3 separate regions of the Homo sapiens genome follow, and regions 1 and 2 are each linked to region 3. Evidence: promoter capture Hi-C in human tissues and cell types (Jung and others, 2019). All regions are on one chromosome and are shown on one strand. Each heading gives the region's core, a stretch centred on a gene start or on the middle of the fragment in contact. The rest is flanking DNA. Distances are from core to core; before and after follow the strand shown. Region 1 overlaps ANKRD24 (ankyrin repeat domain 24). Region 2 holds the start of CREB3L3 (cAMP responsive element binding protein 3 like 3). Region 3 holds the start of GNA15 (G protein subunit alpha 15).

Evidence for each region. The method cuts DNA at HindIII sites, captures the fragments that hold promoters and counts their contacts. A contact is called where the count stands out against the background at its distance.
Region 1: a contact is called between a fragment that was not itself captured here and the fragment with the promoter of GNA15 in region 3, in 1 of the 25 tissues and cell types used here (pancreas).
Region 2: a contact is called between the fragment with the promoter of CREB3L3 here and the fragment with the promoter of GNA15 in region 3, in 1 of the 25 tissues and cell types used here (lymphoblastoid cells).

What each region holds. Positions count from the first base shown.
Region 1 is chr19:4,216,860-4,220,710 of GRCh38, reverse strand. ANKRD24 (ankyrin repeat domain 24) reads right to left here. Exons shown (of 22, transcript NM_001393985.1): 18 at 2,548-3,851; 19 at 953-1,120. Among named protein-coding and RNA genes, the nearest start is that of EBI3, 11 kb to the left of the region's middle. The HindIII fragment of the contact is 4,281 bases long and covers 1-3,753 here.
Region 2 is chr19:4,151,974-4,156,158 of GRCh38, reverse strand. It overlaps CREB3L3 (cAMP responsive element binding protein 3 like 3), which reads right to left and starts at 2,528. Exons shown (of 10, transcript NM_032607.3): 1 at 2,385-2,528; 2 at 1,132-1,260. The coding sequence starts at 2,411. The HindIII fragment of the contact is 37,156 bases long and covers 1-4,185 here.
Region 3 is chr19:3,133,867-3,138,117 of GRCh38, reverse strand. GNA15 (G protein subunit alpha 15) reads right to left here and starts at 2,085. Exons shown (of 7, transcript NM_002068.4): 1 at 1,523-2,085. The coding sequence starts at 1,667. The HindIII fragment of the contact is 27,733 bases long and covers 1-4,251 here.

The DNA.
Region 1 (3,851 bases), core at 364-2,863, 1.1 Mb before region 3:
TGGTGGCAGGCGCCTGTAGTCCCAGCTACTCGGGAGGCTGAGGCAGGAGAATGGCGTGAACCCGGGAGGCAGAGTTTACAGTGAGCCAAGATCACGCCACTGCACTCCAGTCTGGGTGACAGAGCAAGACTCTGCCTCAGAAAAAAACAAAACAACAATAAAAAAAGGTAATGTGTGAAAAATTCCCAATCTAACACCTGGAGGCTGTTGTTATCATCATTAGTATTGTTTAGGAACGAAACGTGGGAACGTGGGTACAAACCCAGCTGAAAGACTGCATGGCTGTGTGACCTTAGGCAAGTGACTTCACCTCTCTGTGCTTCTGTTTCCTCAAATGGGGATAATAAAAGCCCCTATCCTGTGAGAACTGGATGTGACTAAATGCATCCAGTCCACAGGGCCTGGCATGCAGTAAGCACTCAATAAATGTAACTGTGGAGACAGACGCAGTGGCTCACGCCTGTAACCCCAGCCCTTTTGGGGGCTGAGGCAGGCGGATCACTTGAGCTCAGGAGTTCGAGACCAGCCTGGCCAACGTGACGAAACCCCATCTCTACTAAAAATATAAAAAATTAGCTGGGTGTGGTGTCGCATGCCTGTAATCCCAGCTGCTCGGGAGGCTGAGGCACGAGAATTGCTTGAACCCAGAGGTTGCAGTGAGCCGAGATCATGCCACTGCACTCCAGCCTGGGCGACAGAGCGAGACTCCGTCTCAAGTAAAAAAATAAAATAAATGTAACTGTGGTTATAATTGGTACCTGGAACAGCAGCCTGTGTGTGTCTGACTTGTCAGAGGCTGTAACCAGGTCCCCTTCCGTTTCTGAGCCTCAGTTTCCCTTCTGGAAAATGGGTTGATTTTCCAAGGCCCTTGCAGTGAGGACCTTCGTAGATTGGCCCCAACCTTTGCTGAGTGGATGCCTCCCTGACTGAGTGTGGGAGAGGGGGCACCCACCTTCTTGTCCTTCTCCTTGGCCTTGTCCAGAGCCTCCTGGGCCCGGCTCTGGGCCTGGCGAGCCCTTTCCGCCTCGGTCCGTAGCCCCCGTAGCTGCTGCTCTGCTGTGGCCAGCTGTGCCTCGGCTGCGTGTCGCTCACTCTTCATGAACAGGGCCTCACGCTGCACCTGTGGCCCAAGCCCACGCATGACTCTCAGGACACTAAGACTCCAATGATGCTAGACCCCAGAATTCATATGATCCTTCTACTTTGTTCTTTTGTTTTTGGATTTTTTTTAAGACAGGGTCTTGCTCTGTTGCTCCGGACCTGCACTCCTGGCTGGAGTGCGGTGGTGCGATCATGGCTCACTGTAGCCTCAATCTTTCAGGCTTAAGTGATCCTCCCACCTCGGCCTTCCAAGTAGCTGGGACCACAGGTGCCACCATGCCTGGCTACTATTTGCTTGTTTTTGTTTTGTTTTTGTTTTTTTTTGAGACAGAGTCTTGCTCTGTCGCCTAGGCTGGAGTGCAGTGGTGTAATCTCAGCTCACTGCAACCTCCACTTCCCGGGTTCAAGCGATTCTCCTGCCTCAGCCTCCCCAGTAGCTGGGATTACAGGCACGTGCCACAATGCCAACCTAATTTTTGTATTTTTAGTAGAGACGGGGTTTCACGATGTTGTCCAGGCTGGTCTCGAACTTGTGACCTCAGGTGATCCACTCACCTTGGCCTCCCAAAGTGCTGGGATTACAGGCGTGAGCCACGGTGCCCGGCCATGAGCTCAGGTGTTTGAGACCAGCGTGGGCAACATGGCAAAACCCTGTCTTTACAAAAAATTAAAAAGTTAGACGAGCATGGTGGTGCACACCTGTGGTACCAGCTACTTGGGAGGCTGAGGTGGGAGGATTACTTGAGCCCAGGAGGTGGAGGTTGCAGTGAGCTATGATTGTGCCACTGCACTCCAGCCTGGGTGACTGGGTGACTTTTCAGACAGAGCCACACCCTGTCTGAAAAAAAAAAAAAAAGAAAGGAAGGGAAGGGGAAGGGGGGAGGGAAGGGGGATGAAGAAAGAAAGGAAAGAGAGAGGAAGGAAGGAGAAATAAAGAGAAAGAAAGAGAGAAAACACAAGTGGAAAATTCCAAGAGGTCAGGATGGCTGCAGGGTCAAATGTCTGTTCAAGGCCAGGTGCGGAGGCTGATGCCCATAATCCCAGCACTTTGAGAGGCTGAGGTGGGTGGATCACCTGAGGTCAGGAGTTCAAGACCAGCCTGGCCAACACGGTGAACTCCCATCTCTACTAAAAATACAAAAGTTAGCTGGGCGTGGGGGCAGGTGCCTGTAATTCCAGCTACTCCGGAGGCTGAGGCAGGAGAATCACTTGAACCGGGAAAGAGGAGGTTGCAGTGAGCTGAGATCACACCACTACACTCCAGCCTGGGCGACACGAGTGAAACTCCATCTCAAAAATAAATAAATAAATAAATAAATAAATAAAATAAAGTAGGTCTGTTCAAGTAAAACTGATGGGTTCAAAACACCTCAAGGCTGCGGGGCTAAAACAGGCCGCCACGTGGCCAATGGGGGTGGGGCCCGGGTGGTGACCAGCCCTGCTCACCTGGAAGACCTCTGCGCTGGTCTTCTCATGCCGCCGTCCCAGCTCCTCCAGCTGCCCCTCCAGCTGGGCCACGTTGGCCTGCAGGGTGCCCACGATGCGTTCGTGCTCCGAGAGCGCCACGCTGCACACACGCTCCCGCTCCAGCTCCGCGCGCAGCCGGGCGGCCTCCTTGCCCGTGGCCACCACCTCCTGCTCCAGACTGGCTGCCCGGCCCCGCAGCTCCAGGGCCTCCTCCTGCAGCCGGCGGTGCTCAGAGGCCGGCACCACGGACTGGCGGAGGGCCTCGGAGGCCTCCCGCAGCTCGGCCAGGCCCTGCCGCGCCTCCTCGCAGGCCGCAGGCAGCTCAGCCACTCGGGCCTCAGCGGCGTCCCGTGCCCGGCCCAGTTCCGCGGCCGCCGTGCGCTGCTGCTCCCCCGTGGCCCTGGCCGTGGCCAGCTGCTCCCGCAGAACCTCCAGCTCCCGGCTCTGCTCCAGCCGCGCCTCCTCCCGCTGGGCCAGCTCGGCCCGCAGGCCCCGCGCCTCCTCCTCCGCCAGCAGCCGGCTGGCCCGAGCCTCATCCAGGCAGGCCGAGGCCGCCTCCAGCTCCCGCAGGCGGGAGTCCCGGTCTCGGAGGTCCTCCCGGGCCTGCTCCAGGGCCGCCCGCAGCTGTGTGGTGTCACCGCCACCGCCCCCGCTGGCCCCGCTGCCCTCGGCCTCGCGGACACGCTCTCGCAGCCGGCCTGCCTCGGCCTCCGCGGCCTCGCACTTCCCCAGGGCCGCCTCCAGCTCCGCAGCTGCCTCCCGCTCCCGCTGCCGGAGAGCCTCCTCCAAGCCACGGATCCTGGTCTCCAGCTCTACTTGAAGCTTTTCCGAGGCCTCTGCGGCACCAGGATGTAGGATGGGGCCAGCAGAGATCCCCGGGACCGTGGCCTCTACCCCTGGGTTCTCCACACCTGTGGCACTGACTCCTGTGGATTCCATCCCTGTGGCCCTAGAGCCCGTGGCCTCCATGTTTGTGGTCCCTGTGACTGGGGGCTCTGCTTGCCCAGCACCCACTCCGTAGGCCTGCATTTCTGCTTCCTCTGCTTTTGTTTTTGTGGCCTCCACCCCCATGGCCTCCACTCCCGTGGTCTCTGTGTCTGTGGCCTGAGCTCCTGTGGGCTTAGTTTCCATGTTTGCTTCTTCTTCTGTGGTCTCCATTTCTCTGACCTCAGCCCCTGTGGGTTTTGTTTCTGTGACCTTGGCTCCTGTGGCCTCAGCTCCCGTGGCCTCGGCTCCCGTGGCCTCAGCTTCCATAGTCCTGGCTTCCATGGTTTCATCTCCTG
Region 2 (4,185 bases), core at 1,279-3,778, 1.0 Mb before region 3:
AGGGAGGGGGAGAGAGAGAGAGACAGAGAGAGAGGGGGGGAGAGAGAGAGAGAGAGAGAGAGAGAGAGAGAGAGAGAAACGAGAGAGAGAGAGAAAGAAAGAGAAAAAAGGGCCGGGTGTGGTGGCTCACGCCTATAATCCCAGCACTTTGGGAGGCCAAGGCAGGTGGATCACCCGAGGTCAGAAGTTCAAGACCAGCCTGGCCAACATGGTGAAACCCCATCTCTACTAAAAACACAAGAAATTAGCCGAGCGTGGTGGCGGCTGCCTGTAATCCCAGCTACTCGGGAAGTTGAGGTAGGAGAATCACTTGAACCTGGGATGCGGAGGTTGCAGTGAGCCAAGATCGCGCCATTGCGCTCCAGCCTGGGTGACAAGAGTGAAACTCTATCTCAAAAAAAAAAAAAGAGAGTAAAAGAAAGAGGGAGAAAGGAAGGAAAAAAGGAAGGAAGGAAGGAAGGAAAGAGAAAAAGAGAGAGAAAAGAAAGAAAAAAAAGAAAGTGGGCCGGGCGCGGTGGCACACGCCTGTAATCTCAGCACTTTGGGAGGCTGAGGTGGGTGGATCACAAGGTCAGGAGTTCAAGACCAGCCTGGCCAGGATAGTGAAACCCATCTCTACTAAAAATACAAAAATTAGCCAGGTGCAGTGGCGGGCGCCTGTAATCCCAGCTACTTGGGAGGCTGAGGCAAGAGAATCGCTTGAACCCGGGAGGCAGAGGTTGCAGTGAGCCGAGATGGCACCACTGCACTCCAGCCTGGGCAACAGAGCGAGACTCCTTCAAAAAAAAAAAAAAGAAGAAGAAAGAGAGAAAGGAAGGAGAGGAAGGAGAAGAGAACCGAACCTAGCCAGGGAGATGCCCCAAGTTTGAGTTTGAACCTAACTCCAAATTGCTGTGTGACTTTGGATGAGTTTCCACCCTGCTCTGGGCCTCCATTCCCCACCTGTAAGAAGGAGCTGATGCTACCCGCTAAATGATGTGCTTGGCTAAAATCAAGCACCGTGACCCATTAGTGCATCGTAGAGCTGAGCAGAGCTCTGGCTGGGCTCTGGCGGGTCTAGCACCTTCGTGGGGCCTCAGTTGGCCCGCCTGGAGCTCTGTGGTCCCGGGGCAACTGCAGTGGACTCCTCACCTGGTCCTTGACGTGACCCCAGCCCTCGCCCAGCTCCACGTGTCTCAGGATGCCGTCCTGCCGGTCAAACAGGAGATCCAGGAGCTCAAAGCTGTCGATGGGGTCCATGGAGCAGGCAGCAGAAGCCATCTGGGGCGCGAGGAACAGATGTGAGGGTCACATACAGCCCCTGTCCTCCCCACCTCCCATGTGCACATAACCCTGGCTCTTTCCGGCTAGAGTTCAGTTGCCGCTCTGCCTCCGGGTTGGGCCAGCTGCTGCCCCTCGCTGAGACTCCCTTTCCAAATCTGGACTTTGAGGCTGATAGAGAGAATTCCACAGTGTGAGAGCCAATTTCTCTTAAAGTGCTGGAGAGGCTGGATGTGGTGGCTCATGCCTGTAATCTCAGCACTTTGGGAGGCCGGGGCAGGAGGATCACTTGAGCCCAGGAGTTCAAGACCAGCCTGCGCAACATAGAGACCCCTATCCCTACTGCAAATAATTTAAAAAAATTAGCTGGCTGCGGTGGCACACACTTGTCGTCCCAGCTACTGGGGAGGCTGAGGTAGGAGGATCCCTTGAACCCAGGAGGTTGAGGCTGCAGTGAGCTATGGCCACCCCACTGCACTCCACCCTGGGTCACAGAGCAAGACCTTGTTTCAAAAAACAAAAAAGTATGGCAGGCACGGTGGCTCACATCTGTAATCCCAGCACTCTGGGAAGCCGAGGCGGGCAGCTCACCTGAAGTCAGGAGTTTGAGACCAGCCTAGCCAACATGGTGAAACCCTGTCTCTAGGAAAAGTACAAAAATTAGCCGGGCGTGGTGGTGCACACCTGTAATCCCAACTACTTGGGAGGCTGAGGCAGGAAGATCTCTTGAACCCAGGAGGTGGAAGTTGCAGTGAGCTGAGATCGTGCCATTGCACTCTAGCCTGGGTGACAGAGGGAGACTCCATCTCAAAAAATAAAAATAAAAATAAAATAAAATAAAATAAAAAGTGCTGGAGAGAGGCCCTAGCTAGAGATGCCGCTTGCCTCTCAGGCCTTCACAGCCTCCCCAAGTGCCCGCTCCTAGGAGGCAGGGGGACCTGGAAGAAAGACAAGGGCAGCCCCGGGGCAAAGGCACACAGTTTTGCTCATTGCATCCTTTCTCTGGGCCTCAGTCTTCCCATCTGTACAATAGGGGTGGAGATGGGGTCCTTCCAGCTCTGGCAGCTTGGGTAGGCTTTCCCAGCCTAGACTCCCGCTCTCCCTGGGGACCTAGTAGGGCTCACCTTTCCAGCAGCTAAATCCGTATTCATGGGTCCATCCAGTTCTGTCTGCAGATGCCTCGGGGGGTCTCTGCTCCAAGCTGGAGGCCCACCCACCGCCAGCGTTACCTGGGGCCGGGCAAGCTCACAGCCCTCTGTGGCTCTGTCACCACTCCCAAAAGATGCTGAAGCGGTCACAGGCAGCTCCCAGCCCACCTCCAGGTGCTGATTGGTGGACAGGGTGGAGAGACAGGGTTGAGGGCCAGTGACACTGGGGCAGGCAGGAGCAGGGGAGGGAAGACCGTTATCTGGGTGTTTTGTGGTTTTCCAGCCCTCAGTGAGCAAAGGTCGAAGTCTGGGGTACCTCCACTCTGCCGTGACCTCTGCCCTACTTATGAGGACTTTTTCTTTTTTTCTTTCTTTTTTGAGACGGAGTCTCGCTCTGTGGCCCAAGCTGGAGTGCAGTGGTGCCATCTCATTTCGGCTCACTGCAACCTCTGCCTCTTGGGTTCAAGTGATTCTCCTGCCTCAGCCTCCCGAGTAGCTGGGACTACAGGTCCCCATCACCATGCCCGGCTAACTTTTGTATTTTTAGTAGAGACGAGGTTTCATCATGTTTTCCAGGCTGGTCTCGAACTCCTGACCTCGTGATCGGCCCCTCAGTCTCCCAAAGTGCGGGGATTACAGGCGTGAGCCACCGCACCCGGCCAGTTACAGGACTTTTTCTCTTCAGAATTCCCAGATGGGTTCTGGGATAGCCCAGGGCCCTTACATGGGTCCTGTCCACTCCCTGGACAGAAACAAACCAAGAGGACCAGACCAGATCTTCACTGAAGCCAGTTTTCCTGCCAGCAGCTAGCGGCTCCCATCCTTCACCCCACCTGCCAACCTCCGGCCCCCAGCCCCCTCCGAAACCAGCTTGGACTCCGCCTCTGAGTCCCCATGGGTGATTCTGTGCAATCAATTCTCTCTAGAATCTTCTATCGTTCATTGAGTCAACAAATATTTATGGAGCCAAACTGGTTCCTGCTTAGGGCCTTTGCACCTACTCACCTGCTCGCCCCTCTGCCTGGAACTCTCCTCTTGTACCCTCCCTCTTCCCCTCTGGCTCTAGGTCACTGTATTGACATTTTAGTGAATGTTCGATATTTGTGAATCAGCCCGGGTGGCTGAGAGGTGTCTCTGACCTCCCCTCCACCCCCTACCAAGAGAGAGGAGCCCTGTTTTGTTTTTTTGTTTTTTTTTTTGGTGTTGGTGGAGGACAGGGTCTCACTCTATTGCCCAGGCTGGAGTGCAGTGGCAGGATCATAGCTCACTGCAGCCTCCAACTCCTGGGTTCAAGTGATCCTCCCGTCTCAGCCTCCCAAGTAGCTAGGACTGCAGGCGTGCACCACCACACCTGGCTAATTTTGTTTTTTTTTTTTTATAGAGATGGGGTCTTACTGTGTTGGCCAGTATGGTCTCAAACTCCTGGGCTCAAATGATCCACCTGCTTCAGCCTCCCAAAGTGCTGGATTTACAGGCATGAGCCACTGTGCCCAGGCAAAGTCCCCCTTTAGCAGATGACATATTAGACCAAGCGTGGTGGCTCACATCTGTAATGCCAGCACTTTGGGAGGCCGAGGTGGGTGGATCACCTGAGGTCAAGAGTTTGAGACCAACCTGGCCAACATGGTGAAACCCCATCTGTACTAAAAATATAAAAATTAGATGGGTGTGGTAGCACATGCCTGCAATACCAGTACTCGGGAGGCCGAAGCAGGAGAATCACTTGAACCCAGGAGGCGGAGGTTGCAGTGAGCTGAGATCACACCACTGCACTCCA
Region 3 (4,251 bases), core at 836-3,335:
ATTTTTTTGTATTTTGAGTAGAGACGGGGTTTCGCCACGTTGACCAGGCTGATTTCGAACTCCTGGCCTCAAGTGATCTGCCCGCCTTGGCGTCCCAAAGTGCTGGGATTACAGGCATGATTTATTTATTTATTTTATTTATATTTATTTATTTATTGACAATGAGTCTTGCTCTGTCATCCAGGCTGGAGTGCAGTGGCCCGATCTCAGCTCACTGCAACCTCTGCCTCCTGGGTTCAAGCGATTCTCATGCCTCAGCCTCCCGAGTAGCTGGGATTATAGCTGTGTGCCACCATGCCCAGCTAATTTTTGGTTTTGTTTGTTTGTTTATTTGTTTGAGATGGCGTCTCACTCTGTCGCCAGTCTGGAGTGCAGTGGCATGATCTCAGCTCACTGCAGTCTCCACCTCCTGGTTTCATGCAATTCCCCTGCCTCAGCCTCCCGAGTAGCAGGGACTACAGGCACGCACCACCACATCTGGCTAATTTTTGGTATTTTGGTAGAGATGGGGTTTCACCGTGTTGGTCAGGCTGGTCTCGATCTCCCGACCTTGTGATCCACCCACCTCGGCCTCCCAAAGTGCTGGGATTACAGGCATGAGCCACCATGCCTGGCAAATTTTTGGTATTTTAGTAGAGACGGGGCTTCACCATGTTGGCCTGGCTGTGTCTTGAACTCCTGACCTCAAGTGATCCCACCCGCCTGGGCCTCCCAAAGTGCTGAAATCACAGGCTTGAGCCACTGCACCCAGCCAGAGTTCAGAATCTTGAACCGTTACTGACGTCGACTCCCCCATCTGAAGCCTCCGCATGGAAGCCATCACCCTGTTTTGTTTTCTCCTAGATAATTCTTGTTGCCAGAATTATTTTATCTGCTTATGAGTTTACAGACTAAATGTCTTGGCTCCTTCACAGGAAATGAGATCCAGGAAGACAGAAATATCTTCCCCTGTTTGGCTGCCTCGTTCCTGGGAGCTACCCAATAAATCTTAAATGAATGAATAATGAATGAATGAACCAATGAACCAATCAATCCATCCTTTCTAGCCCCCAAAGGAGCCCTAGACAAGCCCTCTCCAGCCATGGCAGGGAGGTAAAGGCGAGAGGGAGCGTCCTGGTGAAGGAGAGGCTGGAGCCGGCCCCTCCCTTACGGGTGGGCTGGCCAGAACGGGTTGCACACCTGAGCTCATCATTCCCTCGCCATGACACAGACAGGTAGGGCGTGCTGGGCCTGCCCGGCAGGGGCCCGGTAGAGCCACGTCTGCTATTGTATATGCCCCACACAGTGGACAGGCCTGGGCACCTGGCCGCTGGTCGCACGTTGGACAAGGAACTTGGCTTCTCTGAACCTCAGTCTTTCTCATCTGGAAAATGGGTTCCAGGCTCCCCATTCCCTGGGAGGAGGCGACGGCTCCACGATGCCAATGTCTGACCTAGCCTGATCCGCCTCCTTGCCCCGACACCCCTGCCGGCTGGCCACCGCCCACTGCCCACCACCCACCGCCCACCGACCCTGGACTCACCCAAAAGCAGCAGCTTCAGCTCCCCGCGGTCCTGCTTCTTCTGCTCCAAGAGGATCCTGTTGATCTCCTGGTCCACCCGGGCGGCGGCCTTCTCATCCTCCGTCAGGCACCAGGGGCAGCAGCGCCAGGTCAGCGAGCGGGCCATGGTGCGGTGGCCTCAGTCGGCACCGGGTGGCATCGCCCCCGGGCCCCTGCTGGCCAGGGCAACCCCCAGCCCAGCCGGCCCTGGAGAGGGCTCCGGGCAACCGGGTGCGCAGGGAGGCTGCCTTTTCCTTGGGGGTCACCCCCCAGGGACCTAGACTTCCTTGCCTGAAACACCCAGGAAGCCCGGCTCGGCGGTGGCAAGGCTTGAGTGCTGGGAACAGGGTGGGGACGGGAGGAGGTGGGGAGGCCAGGGCTCCCCGCCCACCTCCAGACCTGCTCAGACCCGGCCCGACAGGTTGACGGTGAAGGGTGCCAGGAGAGGGTGAGGTGGGGGCCCCAGGGAGGGCGGGGCGGTGGCGGGAAAACCCCCACCGCAGACTGGGTCCTGTGTGACCAGCAGGGCCCTTCTTCCTCCTTCTGGAGAAGGGGCGGATTCTCCTCAGGCTTCACCCGGAGCTGTCCCCCTCCTCGGAGCCAATCAGGAACCGTCAGACCCGTGCTACTGCTGATACATTATATATATATCATATATATATGTGTGTGTATATATATATATGTGTATATATATATATATATATATATATATATATATATATATATATATATATTTTTTTTTTTTTTTTTGAGACAGAGTTTCACTCTTATTGCCCAGGCTGGAGTGCAGTGGCAGGATCTTGACTCTGCAACATCTGCCTCCCAGGTTCAAGCAATTCTCCTGCCTCAGCCTCTCGAGTAGCTGGGATTACAGGCATCCACCACCACGCCGGGCTAACTTTGGATTTTTAGTAGAGAAAGGGTTCCACCACGTTGGCCAGGCTGGTCTCAAACTCCTGACCTCAGGTGATCCACCCGCCTCGGCCTCCCAAAGTGCTGGGATTGCAGGCATAAACCACCACGCTCGGCCCTTCTGATATATTTTTAAGAAACAGCTCAGGCCAGGTGTCATGGACTGTTTCCAGCGACTCTGCCCTGACCTCAGGTGATCCACCCTGCAGAGGTGGGCAGCTTGCCTGAGGTCAGGAGTTCGAAACCAGCCTGGCCAACATGGCGAAACCCTGTCTCTACTAAAGATACAAAAATTAGCCGGGTTTTGGCTCACATTAGCTGGTTTTACACTCACATCACCCTGTATAGTTACTACTGTCATCCCTGTTTGACTGATGAGGAGGTTGAGGCATAGAGCAGGGGAGTGACCGGTGGGGCTGGCACAAGGCAGAGCCGGGAGCCTATCCCTCACCTGCGGGGCCCCAGAGTCTAGACGCCTACCAGGCAGATTCCAGGCAGGGCCATCCCTTCATTGTGCGTGCATTCATGGAGCGCCAACTGTGTGCCAGGCACGGTAGCCAAGAGACACAGATCCCAGACCTCCTTACCTAAGGTTCTAGTTAAAGAACAGATAATAAAATAAATTTTAGGCTGGGCCTGGTGGCTCACGCATGTAATCCCTATACTTTGGGAGGCCAAGGCGGGCAGATCACAAAGTCAAGAAATCGAGACCAGCCTGGCCAACACGGCGAAACCCCGTCTCTACTAAAAATACAAAAATTAGCCGGGCGTGGTGGTGCACGCCTGTAGTCCCACCTACTTGGGAGGCTGAGGCAAGAGAATCGCTTGAACCCGGGAGGCAGAGGTGGCAGTGAGCTGAGATCGTGCCACTGCACTCCAGCCTGGCGACGAAGTGAGACTCCATCTCAAAAAAAATAAAAAATAAAAGAATAAAAAATTTGGCCAGGTGAGTGCGGGAGCTCACATCTGTAATCAAAGTACTTTGGGAGGCCGAGGCAGGAGGATCACTTGAAGTCAGGAGTTTGAGACCAGCCTGGCCAACATGGAGAAACTCCATCTCTACTAATACAAAAATTAGTTGGGCATGTTGGCACGCACCAGTAGTCCCAGCTACTTGGGAGGCTGAGGCAAGGGAATCACTTGAACCCCGAAGATGGAGGCTGCAGTGAGCCGAGATCATAACACTGCTCTCCAGCCTGGGCAACATAGTGAAACCCTGTCTCCAGAAACAAACAAAACAAAACTCTCCCTCTCTCTCTATGTATATATATACACACACACACATACATATATATACACATACATATATATACACAATATATAGACACACATACATATATGTATATACACATACATATATACACATACATATATATACACAATATATAGACACACATACATATATACACATACATATATACACACATAAAAGTATACATTTTAATATACATATATGTATATTATACATAAAAATATATATGTGTGTATATATATACACACACGTGTAAAATATATATATTTTTTAATACACCTGAGCCCGTTGGATGGTGAAAAATTCTGCCAGAAAAATTAAGCAGAGATGTTGTTGGGGAAGGTTCAAGGTCATTGCTCTAAATGGATCAACAAAGGTCGCACAGACAAGTGATATTCAGGATCAGAAGTCAGACAGGCAGATCGGGTGTAAGAGGGACTTTGGGAGTGGACCTCACTGGTCAAGGAGATCTTCCCAATGAGTGCCATGAGGCCGCCCTGACCTGATCCCTCTGGGACTTCAGGGCCCTAGGGGTGGGCTGGTGGCT